Regions from separate parts of the Homo sapiens genome. Here region 2 is linked to region 1. The links are contacts of gene promoters, found by promoter capture Hi-C in blood cells and fetal thymus (Javierre and others, 2016). All regions are on one chromosome and are shown on one strand. Each heading gives the region's core, a stretch centred on a gene start or on the middle of the fragment in contact. The rest is flanking DNA. Distances are from core to core; before and after follow the strand shown. Region 1 holds the start of AARS2 (alanyl-tRNA synthetase 2, mitochondrial). Region 2 has its middle 3.0 kb from the start of MRPS10.

Region 1 (3,838 bases), core at 631-3,130:
TGATGGATGGGCAACTCTATGTAAATATACTAAAAGGCATTGAACTGTATACTTTATTTAAATGGGCGAATTGTATAGCATGTAAATTATATTTCAATAAAGCTGTTTTAAAAAAATTATATGGCTCCACACTAGATCCATGTTTGGAGTTTCTAATGTAACACAATGACTTTCTGGGCAAAATCTGAAAAAAAAAAAGTTGATGTCAGTACTGAGTAGAGGCCCTGCCAGGTTTGTATGGCAAAACACTCCCATCTCAGTTTGGGAAATAATTTCACAGTCTTGTCTAAAGATCATCAATCTCAGCTGGGCGCAGTGGTGCATGCCTGTAATCCCAGCACTTCGGAAGGCTGAGGTAGGCAGGTCAGCTGAGGTCGGGAGTTCAAGACCAGCCTGACCAACATGGAGAAACCCCATCTCTACTAAAAATACAAAATTAGCCGGGCGTGGTGATGCATGCCTGTAATCCCAGCTACTCAGGAGGCTAAGGCAGGATAATTGCTTGAACCCGGGAGACAGAGGTTGCAGAGAGCCGAGATTGTGCTATTGCACGCCAGCACAACAAGAGTGAAACCCCATCTCAAAAAAATAAAAAAGTCATTAATCACACAGAAATCCCCAGCTGGCTTTAGCTTTCTGTTCCAGAAACACTGGAAAAACCAAAACAGGCCAAACACACTTTCAAAACAACACCTTTAATCTATGTGGGCAAAGGGAGAAAAAGGGGATCATGGAATAGGAGTTATAGGTGCTGTCAGAACACAAAGTTAAGAATTTACTATCACTATAGAAATTCAAGTCCAATGTAGATTCCGCAGAGAAACTATGTATACAAAGACCCCAAATAACTTAACACACACAGAATCGTGGCTAAAAGAGACCACCCTGATGGCTAAGGCCTTCTCGGTTATTACACTGACCTCAGCTCTGGAACCTCTATTGAGTTTTAGCTTTGGCAGATTCTCTTCTGTCTTCCCAATCTGTTTAATTTCCCAAGCCAAGGGCATCATGAGAAGCCCCATGAGCACCCTGATTGCATCCACAAGGGCCTGTTGGCTTCAGGGTCACAGCTGTTACTATGGAAAGACAGAAGGGAGAGGTAGAACAGGTATATCTCTTATCCTAAACGAAAACACACAAAACCTTAGGGCATTAGAAGGCTTAGAGAGTGAAATCTCTGCAGCTATTAGCCAACAGCTTCCTCCTGCCTTGACGACCTGGATTCTCTCTGATCCCCAGGCAAATGAGAAGACCAAATGTTAGGCAATTAATAATATAGCAGATGCTGTTTGGCTTCTGTGTTCTCCTATAGACTCCTGCTTCACGGGCAAAAATGGCCGTGTCTGATGCCAAGGTCCAAGGAAACTGGCAAATGCCTAGAACAGTGCCTAGCACATACTAGGTCTTCAATAAATATTTGTTGAATACCTCTTGAATGAATGCTGATACTCCCCTGTCACTCTCTGCCTTCTTCCCTCAGCCTGGAAAAACACACACAAAACACACACACACACACACACACACACACACGAAGTTGAATCCACACCTGTTTATTGCAACCCCATCTGTAACTTTGCAAAACTAATAAGCACAACAGCAATTACTGCTAGAATACGGATTTCAGTGGGCAGGGCATTTTGTCAATTTTGTACCCTAAAAGCCCAAAACAATGCCTAGCACATAGTAGGCTCTCAATGAATATTTGCTTAATGCCGAATGAATTAAGAGCCTACTATGTGCCGGGCGCTGTGCTAGACTCTGCCAGCGACCCAATCGATCGCTTCCACCCCGGCGGCAGAGGCCGCCCCCTGAGTCCTCCTACCGCCAGGGGCCGCTGTAGGAAACGCCTGGCTTCCTTCCCTCGTCACTCTTTGACCACGTAAAGTCACTGCCCGGAGCTACGATGGCAGCGTCAGTGGCAGCTGCAGCCCGGAGGCTGCGGCGGGCCATTCGAAGGTCGCCCGCATGGCGGGGCCTCAGCCATCGGCCGCTCTCATCGGAGCCCCCTGCAGCCAAGGCCTCGGCCGTGAGGGCCGCCTTTCTGAACTTCTTTCGGGACCGCCATGGCCACCGGCTGGTGCCCTCCGCTTCCGTGCGGCCCCGCGGCGACCCCAGTTTGCTTTTTGTCAATGCGGGCATGAACCAGGTGAGGGCCGAACCATACTGATAGGGAGCGGAGTTCGTGAGTTTTCTGGTGAGAAAGACGCTGCAGGATTGGGCAAAAGAAGCGAGAGGCGGAGTTCGTAGCTTTTGGGGAAAGAGGGCGGTGCTTGGTTGGGTAAAGTGATGGGGGTACGGCGCTCAGAGTATAGGGAGGGCTTGGGGAGGGCTTGAGCTGGGAACTTCTGGATTGGGATTGAGTATTAGGTCCAGAAATGGCTGGAGTGGAATCCCGAGGGAGAAGTCTGATTTCATTTATTCGTTATTTAAATAAAGATAACGCTTTCATTAAATGTTTATTGATCACCTATTGTTTGCTGAGTACTATTCTCTAAGGTTTTGGTTTTTATCAACCACTCATCTTTTCTAGACTTCATTGTCCTCATCTGTAAAATAGGGGCGGCATAAGTTAACCTTAGAGGCCGTCTGGGCTCCCTACTAAATGAGTCTCAGTTTTGTTCCCTGAAGTTATTGGGTGTGGTTGAAGAAGCTGAGACGGAGGATGCCACCTTTCAGCGTCCCATTTCCAGCTCCCAACACATTCCTCCTTCTTTTACCTTGCCTATTTTACTAGGCAGAGGGTCTCCGGTTCATGATTTGTTTACCTCTTCTCTGCTCCCCACACACCAGAGATGGCTGTCCCGAGGCTCCCAGTTTGTCCTCATAGACCAAGATTACACTGCACTCTCAGGGGCACAGTCAGCCTTCGGTCTGAACAGCCATCCCTATCCTCACTCCCCACATTTCCCTTCTACTGAGAAATTGGATATCCCTCTCCCCCTCCCCACTCTATGTGCTTCCAGTTCAAGCCAATCTTTCTGGGCACCGTGGATCCACGAAGCGAGATGGCAGGCTTCCGACGTGTGGCCAACAGCCAGAAATGTGTGAGAGCTGGAGGACACCATAACGACCTGGAAGATGTGGGTCGAGACCTTTCCCATCATACCTTCTTTGAAATGCTTGGCAATTGGGCCTTTGGGGGTGAATATTTTAAGGTGAGTCTCTGGGGATCAGTGATCAGCCAAGAAGGGAGTCAATTTGTCCTGTTTCCATTGTACTGTCTGCTTAGGCAGGGCCTCATACCAGATGTGGAGGCAAAGTGCTAGTTGAGCCGGTGTAACAGGAATTACCTCACCTCCCTGATTGGATTGTAAGTCCCTGAAGGGCAGAGACTGTACTTTCTGCCTAATGATCACTCAAAAATTGTTGTTTGAATAAATGGTCAAACAGCAATGCTAAGGTGCTTACTGGAGTTAAAGATCACTCTAGGCTAGAGTAGGCAGAGAATTTCATGTGAAAGTGGGACTTGGTCTGGGACTTGAAAGAAGATAGGACTTAGAAGAAGGGGGAAGCTTTCTGGGCAGGAAAACACTCAGAGGCAGTAATGGTTCATGGCTTATTCTGGGAACAAGATGGCAGCAGAAATGCTTTTGTCTTAAGTCGGGAGCTAAACTCATGTGGCTTGATTACTTCAGTGGGGTCTCCCTCTCACCCGTCTTCCCCCCCCACCCCATGCTGGTTTCTGCTGCAGGAGGAGGCTTGTAACATGGCCTGGGAACTGCTGACTCAGGTCTATGGGATCCCTGAGGAAAGGCTCTGGATCTCCTACTTTGATGGTGACCCCAAGGCAGGGCTGGACCCAGACCTGGAGACCAGGGACATCTGGCTGAGCTTAGGG
Region 2 (3,838 bases), core at 583-3,082, 2.1 Mb after region 1:
AATGAGTTAACTCGCCAGTCCTCCAGGTACGCTCATCCATGTGTGCATTTGGCAGAGAGAGAATGTGTGTGTAAATCCTGAATTCCATTTACTCCCTATCTACCATCCTCAGCCACCGCCAGCGAGCTGAGATGTGCTCTAGGAATGTGGATGAGAGTTCATGTTGACACAGCAAAGCATAATTAGGAAGACATTTTAAGAAATTGAATAATATATTCCTAAGAGAACCATAAGTGATCTTTGAATTGTAGATATCCCTGTGTAAAGGAGCCAAAGGGCCAGTCGTGATGGCTCACTCCTGTAATCCCAGCACTTCGGGAGGCCGCGGCGGGTAGATCACCTGAGGTCAGGAGTTTGAGACCAGCCTGACCAACATGGAGAAACCCTGTCTCTACTAAAAATACAAAAATTAGCCAGGCATAATGGCGCATGCCTGTAATCCCAGCTACTCGGGAGGCTGAGGCAGGAGAATCCCTTGGACCCAAGAGGCAGAGGTTGCAGTGAACCGAGATCAAGCCATTGCACTCCAGCCTGGGCAACAGGAGTGAAACTGTGTCTCAAAAAAACAATAATAATAAAAATAAATATAAAAAAAGGAGCCAAAGAGCTGATTACTTCCTTTATGTACGAGAGGATCTTTTGGAAAGGACTGTCTTTAAAAACAGAACAACTGGCACAATCAAAATATGATTAACTGTAAAATATTTGATGTATCTATGTTTATTTTTTCTGGACATAAAGCAAGGTTTACTTGCATCAACTATCTAGAATCATTGGACTCCTGCTCCTCTACATGAGGTTGGGTGTCTGGAAGTTTAGGCTGTAGGAAAGAGACCCTTAACGGATAGGCCAAGCTTCAGAACGCTGTCCCTGCCCACACCTCATGCCAAAGAGCACTGTTCACAGCCCTACTCTGGGCAAAACCTGATGTTGCCCCTTACAATGAGTTCTACCTAGGCCCTAGCAAGTCGGCACTTGATCCCAAACCATTAGGCCCCTAGGCCGTGTGGTGACACATTTGGCTCAGCCCAGGAAGATGAGAGAACCAAATCAAATTTCCACATTTGAGAGTATGAATGGAGAAACTTGATGAGCCAAAAGCAGAGAGCAGTGGCCATGCAGAGTCCTGAGGGAGCAGAAACTATTGGTAAGCAGTGAAAGCCCATCATTAAAAAGAACACATTTGGCCTCAGGAGTGAAGAGGGTATCCAGTCCCTAAGACTGTTTAAAGCATACCTTTCCAGTTCCAGGAGCTGTCCAGACCACACAGGTCTTTAAAAATAAGCCCCTATTTCTTTTGGAGTGGTGCTAGGGTGGTGGGTATTTCTAGTCCTATTATCCAAGAGATTTAAATAGAACCGAACCTCATCATAGAATCAGCACCAGCCCACTGCAGAGGTAGAAAAGGCACTGCTTTTAAGATGGTTATTGGTTTAGCTGTAACTAACTTACCATATGACCCTGAGTGAGTCATTTCACCTTGGGTTCCTCATCTATAAAATGAGGATAAAATCCATGTCTTCTGGTGTGGATCAGAGTAGGTAACTTAGGTGAAAGTCGTTTGCAAGCACTATAGTTGCAGAACACTCACCCAGCTGAGGCTACTCAAAGGGGACAGAGGCAGGGTGAAGGGCCTCACGGAAGTGCCATTTGGACAAACCGATGCAAACTTTGGAAGCAGGAACAGAGTTGGGAGTGGGGAGGCTGTTGGAAAACCCCATTGGCTGAGAGAAATCCCCTTAAGTGTCACAATTCAGAGAGAGAGACTGATTCTGAGAAGGGCACTGGGCAACCTGCCAACATGGGGCATCACCGAGTCCAGCAGAAGGGCACACAGGTGAGGCCGGGTGTGGTGGCTCAAGCCTGTAATCCCAGCACTTTGGGAGGCCAAGGTGGGCGGATCAGGAGGTCAAGAGATTGAGACCAGCCTGGTCAACATGGAGAAACTCCGTCTCTACTAAAAATACAAAAATTAGCTGGGCGTGGTGGCGCATGCCTGTAATCCCAGCTACTCAGGAGGCTGAGGTAGGAGAATCACTTGAACCCAGGAGGTGGAGGTTGCAGTGAGCCAGGGTCATGCCATTGCACTCCAGGCTGGGCAACAAGAGTGAAACTCCGTCTCAAAAATAAATAAATAAGAAGTGCACACAGGTGAAGTGTGCTGTTTCCATACCCTGTTGCAAGGCCACACTGGAATCTCTGCCACACCTCAACACGGACTGAATTCTAGTAAACAGAGGCCAGCCTGAGGGGCAGGAAAACTGGTTTCTGCTCCTAGACCTTTTCTATCTCCTAGATAGGTGTGATGTTGGGCAAATCATTCTGCCTCTTCTTTGGTTCTCTTGCCTGCAAAATAGGGTAGTAATAACTATTTGTGGGGAGAAAAAAAAAACAACTTTATATTTGTACAGTTCTTTATTTGGATGCTATAAAATATTCTCATAAACTTGATCTTTTTATTTTTAATCTTCTCAACAACCTTGTGAGGCAGGTGAGGTAGAAACTTAATGGCACAAATAGTGGATGACATCTATAGTGTATCATTACATGGCAGTATTGTACTAAACACCATATATTGGTATTGCATTGAATTCCCAAGCAACTATTGGAAGCAGGAACTACTGTTATCTTTTTTTTTTTTTTTTTTTTGACATATGAGCAAACTGAGGCTGAGGGTAAGGAAGTAACTTGCTCAAAGTCACTCAACTAACTGGTAAGCCTGGGATTAGAAACCAGATCTGATTATAAGGCTAGAGTTTTCCATTAGGCTAAAATGCATATGTGAAAGCACTTTGGGGAAATAAAGCTTAGAAATGTGAACAAATGGGCCAAGTGCAGTGGCTCATACCTGTAAAACCAGCACTTTGGGAGGCCAAGGTGAGAGGATTGCTGGAAGCCAGGAGTTTGAGACCAGCCTGGGCAACATAGCAAGTCTCTGTCTCTACAAAACAATAAAAATAAAATAAAAAATGGTCGCAAACACCTGTAGTTTTAGATACTCCAGAGGCTGTGGTGTGAGGATCACTTAACCCCAGGAGTTTGAGGCTGCAGTGGGCTATGATCAAGCCAGTGCTCTCCAGCCTGGGCAACAGAGCGAGACACTGTCTCACACACACACACAAAAAAGACAATATAGTATTATAGAAGCAGACTTTAAGATGAGGAGAAAGTAAAAGGAAAAATAAAAATAAATTTTTAAAGATTTGCACAAATGGAATAAGTTTTTTTTTTGGAGACGGAGTCTCGCTCTGTTCCCTAGACTGGAGTGCAGTGGTACAATCTCAATCTCGGCTCACTGCACTCTCTGCCTCCCGGGTTCAAGAGATTCTCCTGCCTCAGCCTCCCAAATAGCTGGGATTACAGGTGCACACCACCATGCCTGACTTTGTATTTTTAGTAGAGACAGGGTTTTGCCATGTTGGCCAGGCTGATCTTGAACTTCTGACGTCAGGTGATCCACCCGCCTTGGCCTCCCAAAGTGCTGAGTGCTGGAATTACAGGTGTGAGCCGAGCCACTGCACCTGGCCTTTTCTTTTCTTTTCTTTTTTTTTTTTTTTTTTTAGACAGAGTCTCATTGTGTCTCCCAGGCTGGAGTGCAGTGGCACGATCTTGCCTCACTGCAACCTCCACTTCCCGGGTTCAAGCAATTCTCGTGCCTCAGCCTCCTGAGTAGCTGGGACTACAGGCACACAACGATGACACCCCACTAATTTTTTGTATTTTTAGTAGAGATGGGGTTTCACCATGTTGGCCAGGCTGGTCTCGAACTCCTGACCTCAGGTGATCCGCCCACCTCAGCCTCCCAAAGTGCTGGGATTACAGGCGTGAGCCACCGCAC

The links. The method cuts DNA at HindIII sites, captures the fragments that hold promoters and counts their contacts. A CHiCAGO score of 5 or more calls a contact.
Region 2: a fragment that was not itself captured here is called in contact with the fragment with the promoter of AARS2 in region 1 in 1 of 17 cell types (total B cells); the score reaches 5.8 in total B cells.

The regions. Positions count from the first base shown.
Region 1 is chr6:44,311,389-44,315,226 of GRCh38, reverse strand. It overlaps AARS2 (alanyl-tRNA synthetase 2, mitochondrial), which reads left to right and starts at 1,880. Exons shown (of 22, transcript NM_020745.4): 1 at 1,880-2,146; 2 at 2,964-3,155; 3 at 3,692-3,837. The coding sequence starts at 1,904. It overlaps LOC124901322 (a long non-coding RNA gene), which reads right to left. Exons shown (of 3, transcript XR_007059594.1): 3 at 680-1,076. RefSeq lists an enhancer at 1,576-2,135. The HindIII fragment of the contact is 8,838 bases long and covers 1-3,514 here.
Region 2 is chr6:42,218,900-42,222,737 of GRCh38, reverse strand. No RefSeq gene overlaps it. Among named protein-coding and RNA genes, the nearest start is that of MRPS10, 3.0 kb to the right of the region's middle. The HindIII fragment of the contact is 1,952 bases long and covers 857-2,808 here.